Regions from separate parts of the Homo sapiens genome. Here region 1 is linked to region 2. Evidence: promoter capture Hi-C in 16 types of primary human blood cells and fetal thymus (Javierre and others, 2016). All regions are on one chromosome and are shown on one strand. The core of a region is centred on a gene start or on the middle of the fragment in contact, and the rest is flanking DNA. Distances in the headings are between cores, read along the strand shown.

Region 1 (5,927 bases), core at 69-2,568, 570 kb before region 2:
CATAAACCCATCTAGAAAACAAAGCATATATTAAGTTGATCCATGTGAAGTTATCAATATTCTACCATTTTTGACATCCAAAAGTTTCAGTCCAATAAAAAAACTTGCACTAAATAATGATAGCAATTGCTTACAATTTATCAGCAATTGGACCTAAAATATGTTATAATCACTATTTGATTTGGTCTCACAACAATCCCATGAGGTAGGAAATATTCTGATCTCCATTTTTTGGAAAACAGAGTCTCAGAAAGATTCAGTCATCTGTTTGAGTTGATATTGTCAATAAGTGGTCTTATTGTGTGATACATCAAAAGGTTTGTGTGATGCAAAAATACTGTGCTCTTAAATATTGTATTAAATAAAACATTAAAGGAGTTGGAGAGAAAATAAGGGCTACAAAGAAGTCCTTATTCAAGTTTCTAGCACAGAGTGTATGCTTAATAAGTGTTAGCAGAATACATGAGCAAGAAAGCAGAGAAAGGAATGGTTAATGCTAATAAAAGCCCAAGGAAATCCTTTCCATATCTTTTCTTGTATTCCAAAGGGTACAGAACAATCTTCCTCAAGCAGTAACATCTCCCAGCAGGCCCCATCTCCACCCCTTTTGTCAGTTATCTCTGATTCCTGTCAAGAATCTTCAACCTGTTGGACAAGAATCTCATTTCCACATTAAGCTCCTGTCTTTCCAATGGTGGCCCAAACAAGTCCTAGATTTCCAATCATAAACCAATTAGGAGATAAGATATAAACTCATGAAAATTGAATAGCAATATGAAACATCAGGAGAAGACATGTATATGAAATATGAGTGGGTCCTGCCCTAATACACTCCCGTCAGAATGCTATTGTGTCGGTGATTCAGGCTGTCTTTGGGCAGAGGCAATCTGCCTGGTAGGATGCCTCTGAATTTACTAACAATCACCAACTGGGAAAATGCCAACGTGTGAACCACTTGATTCCATCTTGTGATGAATACTCCTCCCCAAAGTTCTGTCATTGTAATCTGCCACCCTGCAAATTTTGCTTGCAAAATGTGTGCTGGCAGCGGCTTCTGCAGCTATTTCAGTATCCTGACATCTGTCGATGCTCTTTGGGCAATGGAATGATACAAGTCGTTCTCATAAGTCATTGGTATCAAAGAGCAATGCTAAGTTTTTACAAAACATTTTGGGAAGAGCATCATGAAGATGCCCATAAATGCTATCGGGCACTGCCTGCAGCATGAGCAGACCATTCGGTGAGAGGCGAGATATAGAGGAGCGTGACAGGGGATGAGCATGTGCAGCATGACTAAAATTAGTTTCCAATCTGAGATCTTCATTTCTGCCATCTCTGGAACAGCCATCATCATCCACATTTTTCCCCATACATGGCCCATTCCAAAATAATCCTCATTCAGAGGTCTAAATGTCAACTGCTCTGAAAAAAGGTTCTGAAATGATGATGATGAATAAATGTGTAACATTTCAAGCAGATACTCTGTGGAATCTTATCACCACTGCCAGAAAGCAGCTAGCAAGGGAACCATGGCCATATACTGAAGCAAGGCCTGGTTTCTGGCCTTGTAAAGCGATGTCTCGAATATGTATCTGCAGGTTGATACCTCATCTCATTGACAGCTTTCCATCCTGACCTGAAGTTCTCCAGCTTTCCCAGTGTTGCATGTAGGCAGCCCCATTCCCTGGGACGGTCAGAGACTGGACTGTTTAACCCAAGGGGAAATACTCTGTCCTGGAGTCACAGAGCACAAAGCTCTTCATCTGTTATACAGACCCAAGGATTTCCCCCAAAGTTCTACCACAGAAAGGCAAGGATTTCCCCCAAAATTCTACTGCAGACAAGAGAAGTCATTTTATATTTAAGGTCTTACAAAGTCTTATGTTACAATTACAAGAGGATAAAGTCTAGAAGCTAAACTAAATGACTGAAAAAATGGCTCAAATGATGACACTCTTGAGATTCACTTGGAGAGTTTAAAGGCAATTTTAAAAGAAAATGTGAAAGTGGAAAAATTCTAGTTTTTTATTTTATTTTATATAACATTAAAAATATATATGTAGTAAAATTATTAAATAAAATAGGTAAACGTTTGACTCTTCCATCTACATCCTTAAAAGGCATATATACAAAATTCCCCCAAAATCTATCTCTTTTTGAATTTTTTATTTGGGAAATGAGGGAATCATCTTATTTGGCGGTATATATGGAACTTAAGAAATATTTGTGGAGTAGTATAGGGAAGAGTCAGGTGTCATTAATATGAGAGAGATTGGGTGTTTGGGTGTCTCATTTTGCCTATTGATTTTAATTTTAAAAATACTGTCAGCAAAAATTCTATAGAATATTAAAATCTGCATTGTCTCTGAAATTACTAAAACCATTAACAAACCTACTAAGTTTAATGTACTGATGCTACCCAGCATGTTTTCCACTTGAAAATAATCCCTTGCCTATTTCCTCATTCGCTTTACCTTAGACCTAGTTTAATTGTGAGACCTCAGCCCCAATTCTCATGACAACTGGAAGGGGTATTTGACAAGGTTGTTATCTGGGAAGAATCATTTCACCATTTGGGGTTTTGGTTTCCCAATTTATATAAAGGATGATTTTCGCCTGCCTCACCTATTCTTTTAATTACTGTGAGGGTCAGATGGCATGAACATAAACTCTTCAAAGAGTAGTGTACTAACCAAGATTTCTTTCCATATGTGTGTGTGTGTGTGTATAATATATACATATATATATTAAACATATAAAACATGTAACATATATTTTAAGTTAACAACCTGAAGCACTCCAAGCATATATTTAGAAAGGGAGGGAGGGAAGGTGGAAGGAAGAACATAAGGGAAGAAAGGAGAAAGAAAAGGAGAAAGGAAAGAAGAATAGGAGGAAGAGAAGACATAGCAAATAAACTATTCATAATCCCATATTATCAAGGTTGTAAATTCCCATACTCTTTCTCCTTTACTTTGTCTCTGTTGAGTATGGTCATTTCATTCACATCCACATATCCGTGAGAGGACAGGCTGCAGGATATCTCAGATTTCTCCTGCTTTTGCAAGCTGCAGTTTTTTGTTAACCTTATTTTATACTGTTTTCCTTTGGCAAACACAGGTGCAAAAGGAATGGGGATTTAGTTGGAGTTCAGGATTCGACCTTCTCTTCTAGAGTGTATTCTTTTTCTTTAGAAAATATAATAAGCTTTATTTATAATATTTAATAATGATATTTAAATGATGTTTACAATTTCTATATAAACTCTTGGATACTCAGCATGTTTCAAATATACAACCTTAATTGATACTCAGCAATCTCTGTTAGTTTCTAGCTGTTATATTCCATAGTGGCATTGGTATTGTATGCTTCTACCTCATTGTGGTTAAAATATACTTTTATGAACTTGCCTGAGAATCCAACAACCAACATAATCACATAATGAGAAAATGTGTTCTGAGTTCCAAACAGCTGGCTAACAAATGAGTACCCAGAAGTCAAAAGTTGTATGGCATTTTCTAATAGCTACATTAGCCGACATAAATCAATTGACATATTCTAATGAATGGAATTCTTTCATTAAATAAGAATTAGCTATGTATTCATTTAATTGTTTAAACAACTTTTTCTAAGCAGTTTTCAAGAGCACCTGAATCACTTACAGATTAGTACATGATAAAAGACACAGAAGATACTAACTTTTAAAACAAGATGCCATTTAAAAGGGAGAATAAACAATTTAAAAGCCTGGAGCTGAATAGATGTGCACATTCATAATAACAATTATTAGAACTAAGGCTTTTATGCCAACCACTGTTATCCCCACTTCACAGATGACAAAAATACAGTTTTTGAGGGGTTAAGAAAAACCACCTAATCAGAGCAATGTTCAAGTTTTCTGAACACAGGGTAACACTCTGAAGAGTAGAAACCCTAGGTTAGATTGTGTCTGATTCTGGCAGTACATTTTAAATGATATTTTTGGGTTATGAAGGTGAAAAGATAAATATTCAAAGTTTAAAAAAATTTTCCTGAGAATAAAAAGAATAGAGATTTCTCTACAGATTCCATTCACAGCTGAAGTGGGAACACCACTTTGCTGCCTGGATAATAAGTATTGAAGTTGCTGTAAAGGAGACCCCCCAAAGATTGACAGCTTGTTGAGAACCCTGTGGATGAAGTTACCTTCCTTGGAATATGGAAACAAGTGGACTGTGTGTGCACAGTAAGAGAGTTTACGGGCTTGGTCGATGATGGGACAGGGTTGACGGAGGGTCCTAGAGAGGAACAGATGGAAGAAGTCTGAGCAGTACCGGTTAAAAAAGAGGAGAGATAATGTTAAAACATTTGGCCAAGGAACCTGAGACATTCATTAATCTAGAAAAACTCTTGAGTGTGTGACACTGGAGCCTGGCATCTTCTACAGTAAAAATTCAGCGACAAAAGAACTCTTTTCTACAGAGAAATTGATCTCTCGTTGGCTCTGTACCAAGAAAAGAGTAGCAAGTAGCAAAGGAAATAAAGCAGGGGCCAATCTTTACATTTTCCCTGCAAGAACCACTGTCTCTCCAAGGCCCCTCTCTCTGGTCCTTGGTAGCCTCCTTCCCAGTTGTCCTCCCCCTCTTCTCACCATTTAACTCACTGTGAGGACCTTGTCATCTGGGAACTTGACCGCTTCCGGTGCTACAGACCATCTATTTTCTTCATTCGGAAGCTCAGCTTATGGACGAGCAGCTCACAGCACTTGCCATCATCCCTTTGATCCTTCAGGCACAGTTTATTTTGCTACCGAGCTTTACAATATTTCTTCAGTGTTGCTGAAATTCAAAGTAGGATTGACTTCAATAATTATGGAAATGACTCTAGTCCTACTTGTATAGACTGGTTAAGATTCTTAAGGAGTTGCTTGAAATTTATGCAATATTTTATTGAATTTTAAAGGGGAAATGATATGTTTTAGTACTATTTATAAATATTGGGATTTATACATGTCTTGAATTGTATCACTAAGTAAAAATTTTGGTGCTAATAATAAAGTATAAATATATATGGTATATTGTTACTATTAAAACTCTATACCTAATTTCTCTCTTGAAATTTAGTTTCAGCATGTTTATCTCCTTCACATATTGACCTAGCTGTTCCATTTTCAGTTCAAACATGCTAAGCCAAAAATTTCCTCCAACCACCTCTTAGACCACCACTTTTCAAATTTTTATAATTTAAATGAAAATAAATTAAAAGCTATGTTTTTACACATTTCTAATCCATTTACTCACTTTCTCCTTAGCAGGCTGGCCTCTGGAGTCAGACTTCCTGGGTTAAAATCCCAGATCTACTATTTAGTAAGTGTTCTACAATGTGCATATTATTTTATTTCTTTGAGCCTCGGTTTCCTTAGGTGTGAAATACTGTTTGACTTATTGAATTGTGAGAATTAAAATTGCATTTTTAGGCACATAGCAATTTACGTTTGCTGCTATCATTACTATAATTATCATCCTTATTATTTTTACCTCTACCCCATTCTTGCACTTTCTTTTTTTTTTTTTTTTTTTTTGCTTTGTTTTGTTTTGTTGCAAGGTCTCACTGTCTTCTTGGCTGGAGTGCAGTGGCGCAGTCATGGCTCACAGCAGCCTCAACCTCCTGTGCCCAAGCAATCCTCCCACCTCAGCCTCTCAAGTAGCTGGGACCTCAGGTTCCTGGCTAATTTGTGTGTGTGTGTGTGTGTGCCTGTGTGTGTTGGGGGGGTGTGGGAGCGGAGACAGTCTCACTATGTTGTCCAGGCTGGGCACTTGTTTTTTTAACCAAATGACTTTGCCTTTTAATTCACAGAGGAAATTGAGAATATTAAGAATGATGTTTCTCAACTTCTTCCTCTACCACTTCATCTATCTTTTCCTCTCTCCTACAATTACAGACAAAGG
Region 2 (5,788 bases), core at 2,160-4,659:
GTTTTTGAACTCTATATTATGAATTCAGCAGAGACTGGAACAGCGAATATGGAACGGTTGTTAGCACAATGTCTTAGTCTGTTCATGCTGTTATAACAAAATATCTTAGCCTGGATAATTTATAAACAACAGAAATTTATTGCTTACGATTCTGGAGGCTTGGAAGTCTAAGGTCAAGGCACCAGCAAATTTGGTATCTGGTGAGGGTTCACTGTTTGCTTTATAGATGGCAAATTCCCGCTGCATCCATACATGGTAGAAGGGGGCAAACGACCTCCCTCAAGCCCCTTTTACAAGGGTACTACTAATCCCATTCACGTGGGCAGAAGAGCCCTTATGACCTAATCACCTCCAAAAGAACCCACTTCTTAATACTATTGCTTTGTGGATTCGGTTTCAACATAGCCATTTTGGGGGAACACAAGCAGCTGGGAGGCTGAGGCAGGAGAATCGTTTGAACCATAGCATGTGATTCCTCTGAATGACAACTAAGTCCATCGTTCACTTGGGCTCAATTTCACAGTTTTCAAAAGAATGATAATAAGCATTGTCCATTAGACAGACAATGTTTAAGATCACCAATCTGAGGTAATAATTAAAGAATCTACAATAAGACTGAAAGCACTAGATACCTTAAAAATATATAGCAAGAAATGAATTAATGCAGGAAAAAAAAGCCAAATACCGCATGTTCTCATTTTTAGTGGGTGCTAACCATTGGGTACCCATGGACATAAAACAGTTTTTCAACCCTTACTTGTCTCCCTCCCTCCCTGGCTAGTAGTCTTCATTCCATTGGTAACAATAGACACTGAGGACTTGGATGATGGGATCATTTCTACTCCAAACCTCAGCATCATGCAATACGCTCCAGTAACAAACCTGAATCTAAACTAAAAGTTGCTACATATTCAGCAAGTATATTTTTAAATAAAAATAGTTACAATGTATTGAGTGTCTCTATGGGCCTGATATTCTTGCATAGTTTACACAATTTCATTTGGTTCTATATGCATCATCTATGTCACCATCATCATTTTACAAATGAAGAAACTGGGGCTCCAAGAGACTAAAGCAGCTTTGCTCAAGGTCACTCAGTTTGTAATCCACAGATCTGGCAACACAAACACAGATCCATCAGACTCCATATTCATATTCTTTGCACATATGTATCAGTGATGATAAATTTTCCAATTACTTTTACATTTATTAATTTCATTTTAAGACATTACATTGTATGGTCCTGAAAATGCTATTCCTAATGGATATTGCCCAGCATTAGTAACACCTCGTATTTGAAAAGTAATTTATTTTTTTCAAACAATTTCCATTTCCTCATTCAATTCTCACAATGTTGGGAAGGAGGTATTTTAATCCTCATTTTACAAAGATGAAACATAAAGATGTTAAGTTATTTGCATAACGAAACTAAAAAGTGGCAGAGTTAGGTTTTTTTTATTTTATTTATTTATGAGATGGCAGTCTTACTATTTTGTCCATACTGGCCTCAAACTCGTCGGCTTAAGTGATCTTCCCACCTTAGCCTCCCAAGTAGTGGGGACTGCAAGAGTGCACTACCTAGCCAGGCTAGAACCAGAGTTTTTGTTTTTGTTTTTGTGTGGGTTTTTTTTTTTTTTTTCAGATGGAGTCTCACTTTGTTGCCCAGACTGGAGTGCAGTGGCATGATCTCGGCTCACTATAAGCTCTGCCTCCCCAGCTCAAGCGATTCTCATGCCTCAGCCTCCCAAGTAGCTGGGACTACAGGCATGCGCCACCACGCCTGGCTAATTTTTTGTATTTTTAGTAGAGACAGGTTTTGCCATTTTGGCGAGGCTGGTCTTGAACTCCTGGCCTCAAATGATCTGCCCTCCTTGGTCTCCCAAAGTGCTGGGATTCCAGGCATGAGCCACCATGCCGGCCTTAGAACCAGGTTTTAAAATGGAGTCATCATCCTCCAGGTCCAATGCTCTTTTTGATACACAGGTGGAAGTTGGCTTGAGATTGTGGGGTTGCTAAACAAAAGGTTGAGGAAAAAAGGCAAAATTTCCAAAAAGGCTTTTAAATGACCCCAAAAAGATACTCACCCTCTTTCCACTACTCATAAACCATAATAACCAACATTAAGTTTACTGTGTAACTCTCTCATTCTTTTAAAAGAGCTAATACAAACATACACATTTATATTCTTTTTAAATTTTCATTTTTCTAAAACACTAGAGATGCTACTTGCAATTAGATTTCTTTTCATCATTCCAGGTAAATCGCAAGGATCTAATTAATTTTAAAGATGTGAAAGAATTTACATATGGACATGATTAAGACCACAACCGTAAGTCAATTCAACAACGATTTCTGGAGCACCTACTATGTGTCAGGCACTATTTTGGCATGCTGGGGAAACAGCAACAAACAAAACAGACAAAATGCTCGCCCTCAGGCTTTGTTTCCCAGCCATCCCACTTTTATCATTAACAGTTTTTGCCTGTGTGTTTGCCAATGCAACCTATATTTCATTATTTTGATAGTTGTGTAACGTTCTATAGTGTGGGTATATAAGAATTTATTCAGCCATTTATTTATTGGTTAACATTTCATTTAGGTTTTATTTTTATTTTTGCAACCAATGTTGCAATAAACACCCATATTACATATATATTATATGTATAGCTTATTATTTCTTAAAAAAGAGCAGTCTAACTTGGGTAAACAAAAACTGCCAAGGAAACGCATCCCTACCCATTTGTTCTCACTAGCCCACTTCATTTCCCAGGTGTGCTCCCTGGCTCTGGTACTATCCATCTGGGTGGTGCTGAAGCAGGTGCTCTCTCTGCTCCGGGAAGCCATTCCCAGTATAGTCCTCACCCCCTGAGTCTCCCCTCGCTTCCAAAAGTCAGCTGTCTACCGACCTCTGCCACGAAAACTGTCTAATCACGCTTAATATGCAAATCTAAACTCTGCGGTGTCGCATATGGCCCCCTGCCAATAATCCTTTGACCCATCCCACCTCTTGGCCATTTTGTCACCAGAATGCCTTAGGCTCATGTCAGTTGCCTTTTACAGGGTTAATAGCTCACCCTTCAAAATCTGTGTAAATATATGTGATTCATTACATATATTTATGTATGTGTCATTTTTGGGACGAGCATACGTATAATGGAAATGTACACCCACAAGAAGATGTAGCTCCTTGAATATGGTTATTTTCTTCCTCTTGCATCCATTCCTCATCCAGCGTGGCTCCATCACGTGGAATTGCGCCTTTCCTCGGCCATTTCCCCTAAGCTTTGGAAAGACTCATATTTCCTGAAATTTAAATCACCGGCTAGCGGTTTCCTGTCCCCCCTTCCCGCCTCCCTTTACCCCCCCTCAGCCTCCTCCCGCCTGGCTGGCGCCGGATCCGCGAGCAGCAGTGTCCACCTCACGTAGCTGGCCGAGGCGGTATCCAGATTCCGGGGGTCTCGCTCCTTGGCATAGTGGTCGCTTAACTCCAGCGCCTTCCCAGTGCCTCCCAAACCTCTCCTCCTCCTGCCCGGGGCTGTTCTAGGAGGAGCCTAAATGTCCGCTTCCCCAGCTGAAGGGGATTGTGGTGCGTAAACAGGATTAACTCCCTCGCCCCCAGCTGCGCGGATCTGCGCGGCGGCCTGCGGGCCAGAGCGAGCCTTCGGGTGCGTGGAGGGCGCAGCACTGGAGCGGGGGATGGGGAAGCGCGCGGCCTTGGAGCCGTCTCTTGGGCCCGCTTCCTCGCCGAGTGGGGAGGGGGGCCACAGCCTAAGGAGCTGCTCCTCAAAAGCCCGGGCGGACGGCGGCGACGGCGCGGGTTCCTAGCGGCAGCCTCAGCTCCACCACCTCCCTCACCCTCCCCGCGCTTCCTCTCCGCCCCTCGCGCTCCAGCCACTCGGCCGCAGCCGGCGCTGTCCTCCGCCCCCCGGAGCCGCCGCGCCAGACCCTCGCCCAGACATGGGGGACCTGCCGGGCCTCGTGCGCCTCTCCATCGCGCTGCGCATCCAGCCTAATGACGGCCCGGTCTTTTACAAGGTGGACGGGCAGCGCTTCGGCCAGAACCGCACCATCAAGCTGCTCACCGGCTCCTCCTACAAGGTTGAGGTGAAGATTAAACCCAGCACGCTGCAGGTCGAGTGAGTGCGGGGCGCCTGGTGGCAGCAGGGTCCCCCATGGGGTACAGGCAGAGGACTGAGGCCCCCAGGACAGCCCGAGCCTCTCAAGGGCCTCTGGCCTCGCGCCGCTCCCAGCGGGCCCGGGGGTTGGAGGAAGAGGTCACTCCCTGTCCGCCTTCGTCCCCTTCCTTCCCTTTGGCTTGTATTCCTCCATTCTCGCTTCCCTCCACCCATCGCAGTGACCTCAGTGGGTTCTTTAAAATCAGTGACAAGAAGCCAGGGTTTTTGCTTGTCTGTTTCTTATAAATTTCTCCTGCCTTCTGTCCAGCCTTGGGCGCGGAACCGCAGGCGGTCGGGGTGGAGCAGATGGGAGAGGTCCGCAGGGTTCAGCCACCGCAATCCCAGCCCTCCTGCGCGCGGTCCAGGCGGCCCACAGGGTCTGCCCGCAAGGCTGAAGGAGGGAGAAAGGAGGAATGAGGTGGAAAGGCAGGGGAGGGGTGATTACTGGGGCTCCCTGAGGGATGCTCCCCACTCCCTTCGCCATTCAGTGGCTGGGACCCTGGGGTGGAGCAGCAGACACTAGTAAGAGAGCGGCCGCCCCTTCTCTGGCCTAGTTTCACGGTTTTCCATGCCGTATGCTGTTCTTTTTCTCCTGAGTTTTCTGTTCAGGCTGGTGATGGTGCCTGGGATTAGCAACATCCCCACAGCAAGAGGATGTTTTTTGGTTTATCCATGGCAGGGACGATTTCTTGCCAGCGACCGCTGGATAATGCACCCAGTAGACCTCTGGCGGGAAAGTGTGTGGGAGCATGCAGTAGCCTACCCGGAAGAACTGCGGGTGGAGCCCCTTTACCTCTCGTTTCTACCTACCAAAGTCTAGTCTGCAGAGAGAAAATAAACCAGCATTTATTGTATCTACTACATATGGTGGGCATTATTGCGGGGGTGGAAGGACTTTGAATTCATCAGATACTACTTATAGCTTACGTTTTAATTCAGTAAACTTGTATTAGCCTTCCAAGGTGCAAGGACCTAGAACCAAATCTGGATGGTTTCTGGTACTCCTGATTCATCTATTTGTCAGCATCCCCCACAGCTCCATGCACCCTTTATTCTCACATTTCCCAGTGTTCTGTGCACCTGGATATAATCCAGGCTTTTCCTTTCCCTTCTTTCCTGCCAACCTTATCCCCGGAGTTATCTGTTAATATATTTCTTTTTTTTTTTTTTAGAGTATTCCTCTAGTGTTCAAACTAATCTAAAAGTTAATTTGTTAGGAATAAAACTATTTTTTCTGGTTACATTTTAATGCTATCAAGGATTTCTCAACTCTAATCCTGTGGTTCTCAAACCTGAGTATATATCAGAATCACCTGGAGTGCTTGTTAAAACACAGATGCTGGAGCTCTCCCTAGAAGTTCTAGTTTAGTCTATGGTAGGGCCTAAGAATTTGTTTTCTAAGGTCTGCAGGTGATGCTGATACTGCTGGTCCAGGGACTTGGCTTTGAGAACCATTATCCTAACACAAAAGAATGATGCCAGTGAGAATTTCTGATGGTGTAGAAGGCTTGAGGTACTCCAAATCATAGGACCCCTGATTGTTGGAACAGGAGAAAAAAAATATTAGAGGACGAGTTCAGTATTCTCAATCCTACCTGCATATTAAGATCACC

The links. Contacts are between HindIII fragments. The CHiCAGO score rates a contact against its expected background, and 5 or more counts as called.
Region 1: a contact is called between a fragment that was not itself captured here and the fragment with the promoter of CNRIP1 in region 2, in 1 of 17 cell types (neutrophils). The highest score is 5.5, in neutrophils.

What each region holds. Positions count from the first base shown.
Region 1 is chr2:68,880,860-68,886,786 of GRCh38, reverse strand. LOC105374792 (a long non-coding RNA gene) reads left to right here and starts at 4,758. Exons shown (of 3, transcript XR_940227.3): 1 at 4,758-4,829; 2 at 5,294-5,345. RefSeq lists an enhancer at 5,304-5,927. The HindIII fragment of the contact is 3,782 bases long and covers 1-3,209 here.
Region 2 is chr2:68,317,570-68,323,357 of GRCh38, reverse strand. CNRIP1 (cannabinoid receptor interacting protein 1) reads left to right here and starts at 3,409. Exons shown (of 3, transcript NM_015463.3): 1 at 3,409-4,136. The coding sequence starts at 3,958. The HindIII fragment of the contact is 3,613 bases long and covers 3,285-5,788 here.